2 separate regions of the Homo sapiens genome follow, and region 2 is linked to region 1. Evidence: promoter capture Hi-C in 16 types of primary human blood cells and fetal thymus (Javierre and others, 2016). All regions are on one chromosome and are shown on one strand. The core of a region is centred on a gene start or on the middle of the fragment in contact, and the rest is flanking DNA. Distances in the headings are between cores, read along the strand shown. Region 1 holds the start of SPINK1 (serine peptidase inhibitor Kazal type 1). Region 2 overlaps JAKMIP2 (janus kinase and microtubule interacting protein 2).

Region 1 (3,101 bases), core at 293-2,792:
GATGTTTCTCAAACATGTCAAACCAGCGTCAGCCTCAGAACCTTTGCGCTTACTATTCTCTCTGTCTGGAATGCACATCCTTGGAATAAATGCATAGTTCAAATCCTCATTTCCTTCATGTCTCTGTGTGATATCACCTGAAAAGCAAGACCTTCTCTGATTACGCTATGATACATATCTCCTTAACCCTCCAGCACCCTTATCCTTCTTGTCCTTTTCTCCATAATATTTATCTGATATATTTTATAATCACTTATTATTTTTTGTCACTTGCCTCCCTCAACAAAAAGGCAATGGAAGCTCCATGAAGACAGAGATTGTTATTTTTATTTACTGATCTGTCTTAAGAGATAAATACAGTTCTTGTCATGACTTGGGAAGGGTTTGAGATTTTATCCTACTTGGAAGCTAAGAAGTTAGCCTGCCACATTATAATGGTTTCTGGCAGAAGGCACAGACTCCTGGCTCAGAGAAAAGGGACTTAATTATTCCATAGCAACAGCCAGAGTATTGGAATTTGTTCTGGTTTCCCAAGCCCCAATTTCCACAGGCCAATTTAAGGGGCATCAAGTGATAGTTGCAGGGAAAGTACAGTGTGTTAAAGGAAAGAAAGGCCAAGCTTTTAAAAACCCGAAATCTTTTGTAAAGGGCAATTAACATGGTCTTTGCCCTAGAAGGAGATATTAACTTTATTACACTAAACAGTAAACAAACCTGCCTTTTGGTGCAGAGGGAGACATTACGTATTTTCTAAGGTCGTTTGTTATATAAACACCCTTAAAAAGATAGTCTGAAACAAAGGTTATCAGTACCTCTACTCATAAGACACACCAAAACATGAGAGAGGATGGAGAATTCTCTTCTAATAACACATGGTAGATATCCAGCACATATTCTCTTTTACCCAGCACATATTCTCAGATGAAAGAGTAACCCTTTGAATTAGGTGTTATTATTATTTTAATTTCCAGATGAATACACAGAAGCACAGCAAAAGTGGCTCCAACAAGCACCCTCTAGCTCCAGAATACACGCTTTAGGGAACTGAGTCCTCTCTCTCTCTTGCTTTCTCTTTCCCTCTCATCTGCCACTCCATCAGCTACTTTAGGTTTTGTGAATGAGTGAGGGAAAAATAGAGAAAAGAGAAAGAAGAATAAGAAAGGAAGAGTGGAGGAAAGGAAAAAAGAATGGAGAGGTTTTACCCTACTTGGAATAAAATTCTTTCTAGTAGCTATCCATACCTGCTCATCTATCCAGAACTACAGAGTAGAAGGGATCTTTGAGTTCATCTTACAGGTGAGAAAACAGGCTTGAGAAGGGAATGACTTTCCCACAACCACAGAGGGAGTTAGGGATCAAACTAACCACTAGAACTATTTTCCTGACAGAATCTTTGCCTTGCATGTTTCAGGCCCACCTGGCTCCTTTCACCTTTCTTACACAGGTGACATTCCCAGAACCTGGAGGCCAGGCTATGACACAGAGTCAATCAATAACCAGGGAGATCTGTGATATAGCCCAGTAGGTGGGGCCTTGCTGCCATCTGCCATATGACCCTTCCAGTCCCAGGCTTCTGAAGAGACGTGGTAAGTGCGGTGCAGTTTTCAACTGACCTCTGGACGCAGAACTTCAGCCATGAAGGTAACAGGCATCTTTCTTCTCAGTGCCTTGGCCCTGTTGAGTCTATCTGGTAAGTGTTGCATATTTTTCAAATTTAAATAAAACTGTTTTGACCTGTTGCTTTGTGAAGCACATTATCTTCTAGACTTTTGATGTAGTCTAGTCTTCGAGAGATGTTTTGGACCTAATGAGATGAAATAAAATCAACAGGTAAGAATTATTTTTTAAGAGGAATTTTTAACCTACTATAAGGAAAACAATTCTACTAGTAAGAAATTCCCAGAAATAAAATGGTTTTCCTCTATTGATGTGGCTGACCCTTTGTTGGGATATGGTAGAGAAAAAAGGGTAAAAATATTTTAACTTTAAGTATACTTCTCATTCTGTAAATGTGTAAGGCCAAATTACAAATTTTAAATTCTCATGGGATTGCATAAAATAGATAAATGGCTTCCAGTTATTCAGTATAAAAGGCATAATTTGACTGATTAAAAATTTATTTTTTTATTGTATAGGTTTCAGTGTACTTGAATCATGTATAGTTTGTCAGATTTATCCCTGAATAGCTAATATATGTGATATAAAGGGAATTTTTTATTTTCAATTCCTGGTATTTCTTATTAGTATCTGGAAATACAAAAATTGCATTTTGTGTATTTACATTACACATTTTGAATGTTTTGAAAGAAAATATTCTGCTTGAATAGATGGTGCACATATACCTCCAACTGCATCTTGACAATGTTGACAGACAACTCTGAACCCGCAGAGCCAAGATCAGTTTCCTTTTTATCACTGGAAATGGTTAACATTTTCAACTTCACCTCTCATGTAGTGAAGGATCCTGTGGAGAGCCAAATCAGCACTTTGCTAAGAAGAGGAAGAATATTGTTTGTTTTATTTGCTGAATATTTATGGCAACAGTCAGTGTTCCCTTTCCCCCTCCTCATGCATGTTAATTAATACAAATAGATGCCTGTGATGAGCACCTGCTCTTCAGTTTTTAGACTCAACTAGATTCTAAAAGCCAGTGGGCCCCCAACAACATCAAGTTCTGACTATCCCGGGGGAAATTCTCCAAGCTCATAGATGCCTCACTAATTTTCATTACATTTAGATACAAAGAACTACCTCTTTGCTCAGATCACCTCAAAGATTGATGATATTAAAATTAATTTTCAGGAATGTTTCCTTATTTGATTGCTATCATATTAGTTCCCTTTCCCTTCCATGAACTTATCCACAGTTATCATTTCCTATATGTTGTCAGCAAAACCTCTGCTATTTTCTGGGGGAATAGAGATTAGCTATTTTGACTACCTGTAAATTCAACAAATGTGAGTTAGACCCATAGTCCATATGATGCAATTGTTGGAAATAGCTCTTTGGGAACTGATAGTGAGTTGGCAAAAGAACTCTATTTTTTCAACAATACTTACAAAAGGGAATTTAAATGTAATTGAAAAAGCTAACTTTGCATC
Region 2 (3,101 bases), core at 374-2,873, 240 kb after region 1:
CCACATCACCATTAAATGGTTGATACCCATTCATCCTTCCCGTCTCAGTGGAAAATCAGGGAAGCTTTCCCTGATCCTCCAGCTTCAGTTACATTTCATACAATATTATTATGTCTTCCCTACCAGGATTTTTATGGACCAATTATTTAATAATCTTCAGTCTCAGTGTACTCATCTGTATTGTGGAGGTAATATTAATAGCTACCATTTATTGAATACTTTATGACAAATTGCATATAAAGGGTGAGGAGTGGAAGGTGTCAGAGATGGCCCTTGTGTTCCTAGATGGTGTAACTGGTTAAACGGTGGTGCCCTTACAGATGCTACAACCACAAGTCAGAAGCCACATCACCGTACTCAAGACTTGGAGTTTGTGGCATTAGCTGGGCACAGTGGCTCTGTAATCACAGCATTTTGAGAGGCTGAGGCAGGTGGATCACTTGAGCCCAGGAGTTTAAGACCAGCCTGGGAAACATGGTGAAATCCCATCTCTACAAAAGTACAAAAACTAGCTGGGTATGGGGGCACATACCTGTAGTACCAGCTACTTGGGAGGCTGAAGTGCAAGGATGGCTTAAGCCCCAGAGGTCGATGCTGCAGTGAGACAAGATTGCACCACTGTACTCCATCCTGAGCAACAAAGCAAGACCCTGTATCAAAAAGAAAAAAAAAGAATTTGTAGCATGCAGTAAAGTCTCAAAAATGATAGTGGCAATTGCTGTTTTCCACAGATGAGGAAACTAAATTGTAGCACTGTTATGCAACCTGTTAAAAAGAACTCCTGTTACCCACTGGGTAACTGCAATAACTCAGAATGCTAATTTGAATAAATCTGGCTTCACTATAGAAATAATAGTTCCTTTTACAAGTACTTCTCAATTCATAGAAACTTAACATTCCAGGAGACTGCCTGGACTGCCTGTAAGTCCATTGGTTTTTAAAACCAACATGTGTTTACTCAAATGAGGGGTTTTACCTCGGTTGTGATAGGTGGAAATGATGCATACATGCTTTGACACAATATATAGGATTTAATCTTTGATATGCTATACATTGAAAGTTTGCAAGTAAAAGACTTTTTGTGTTTGTATATTTATTCTATATTTAAAAACACACAAACAAAAATACATCCCTGAAGAATTTTTTATATACATTCAGATCAACTCTCTTATTTACCATGGAATAGGAGAATGTTGTGTTTGTAACTAGTTATTTGGGGCTCTCATCCCAGTGGAATGTAAATATGTACTCAATCTATTTTCTCAAATCATAGCTTTCTTCACTCAGGCTCTGTCTTATTTCCCTCTCTCATCTTTTAATTAAATATTAGGTTGGTCCCCCAACTTCTCAGTCACTTTCAATCCTCAAAAGTCTTAAGCCAGTTTAAAAGTTCAATTTCAGACTCTGTTTTATTCTCATTTCTTCCCTTATCCTCCCTTAGGCATGAGCCAAGTACCCCCATGGAGCTGTAGTTCAGGGTCTGACTCTACGAGAACTCTTCCTCTTCTCTTCCTCTTCAAGGCTCAGCCGTTCTGGAGAGCAGGGAGGAAGAAGAGGGAAAAGGATTCTCCCTCTCAGCTCCTTTGACAGTGATTGCAGATGTTTCTTTGGCTACTGTTGACCAACACTTGATATCTTTTCTATGAGAGGTGACCAAAGGCTGGCCATTCTGGGCAACATATGTGTGAATTCTTCAGAAGGGTGTGCAGGGGATGCCCACTGCCCTATTCCCAGTCTGGCCAAGGCCCAGACTCTTCCACTGCCTCACTGGCTCCCTTCGTTGGTGGTGCAACCCACAGCTTTTTGCTAAGGAGGTAGCTTTTTGATGGAGTGTGGAGCAAGGAGACAACTACGCTGTAGCGCCTGTCTCTGCCCTGTCATCACTCTTCAGTTCTCTGCTCACATATAAGCAAGGGAAGATGAGAAAGTCTATGTCTGAGCAATAGGAGGCAAGTATGCCTCTGTGAATCCACCATCAATATCTTTACGCCTCTTCGTACCTCCTCCTCATTCCCTCAGTGTGATCTCTCCCCGACCACTGTACTTCCTTCCCACAGGTTCTCCTCTGTGACTCTGTCACTCTTCCATCCCAGTCTAACCTTGTCTTGGGAGCAAAATGGCTCTGCAAATATGCCTTTGGATCTTTAAGTTGCCCCTGGTTGGTAGACTAGAAGTATCCTTGGGGTACTAAGTGCCTCCTTTTCCTCCACTTTAGATTGTGGTTTTAACATTTAACTTTGGATTTAACATTTCTGGAATAATAGTAAAGTCTTTCTACAGAATCAGTATCCTTATTTTATAGATGAGGAGATTGAGGCTTAGAGAAGTTAAATAAATTAGCTTTGGGCATACAGCAAGAAAATAGAAATCCCATTTTCTCTATCCATGTTGTTCAGACCCTAAAGGCCATTCCCTTAAGTAGGACATGATAGCACAACCTCATAGCACATCTTCTGTGCTATTTCTGGCTTTCATTGGAAGACAGCATTACGACCTAGACTTCTACACAAGTGAAAACTCAGACATATGGACTTACAGAGGAACAGGGCTAGGAGTCCTGACTGGCACATCCCCAGGGTAGCACCTTTTCAGGGACATCTCTGGGCCAACCAAGAAACCTGTGTGGCAGAATTCCCAGGGAGTTCTTCAATCAGGACTTTAGGTGGAGACAATTTGCCAATGGTTACAATTTTGTTGGGGAGGAAATGTGACATAGAATTAAGTCACTGAAGGGAATAGACAGGTCTGCTATTAAAATAACATCTTGCAGAAACAGTAGATACTGGAGACTTCAAAAGTGGGGAGGTAGAGAAGTGGCAGTGTTTGAAAAACTACCTATTGGGTACTATTTTCACTTTTGTGTGATGGGTTCAATAGAAGCCCAGACTTCTGCATCATGAAATATATCCATGTAACCAACCTGCACATTTACCTTCTGAATCTAAAATAAGTTTCAAAAATAAAATAACATCTTAAATGGATATGTTGGGGCATGATTATTCAATTTAACTTCTTAGCTATCACCTTGGAAGGCCTCAGAGGAAAAAGCAGTAATGATAATAATATTTCAGGCAACTTACTTTGAGACAAGAACCATTAAT

What was found. Contacts are between HindIII fragments. The CHiCAGO score rates a contact against its expected background, and 5 or more counts as called.
Region 2: a fragment that was not itself captured here is called in contact with the fragment with the promoter of SPINK1 in region 1 in 4 of 17 cell types (megakaryocytes, fetal thymus, monocytes and 1 more); the score reaches 5.9 in megakaryocytes.

What each region holds. Positions count from the first base shown.
Region 1 is chr5:147,830,112-147,833,212 of GRCh38, reverse strand. It overlaps SPINK1 (serine peptidase inhibitor Kazal type 1), which reads left to right and starts at 1,542. Exons shown (of 4, transcript NM_001379610.1): 1 at 1,542-1,690. The coding sequence starts at 1,636. It overlaps LOC124901101 (a long non-coding RNA gene), which reads right to left and starts at 2,708. Exons shown (of 2, transcript XR_007058987.1): 1 at 2,343-2,708; 2 at 1,602-1,804. The HindIII fragment of the contact is 4,964 bases long and covers 622-3,101 here.
Region 2 is chr5:147,591,909-147,595,009 of GRCh38, reverse strand. The region is part of intron 21 of JAKMIP2 (janus kinase and microtubule interacting protein 2); the gene reads left to right. It overlaps JAKMIP2-AS1 (JAKMIP2 antisense RNA 1), which reads right to left. Exons shown (of 4, transcript NR_038902.1): 2 at 533-650. Among named protein-coding and RNA genes, the nearest start is that of JAKMIP2-AS1, 33 kb to the right of the region's middle. The HindIII fragment of the contact is 3,114 bases long and covers 67-3,101 here.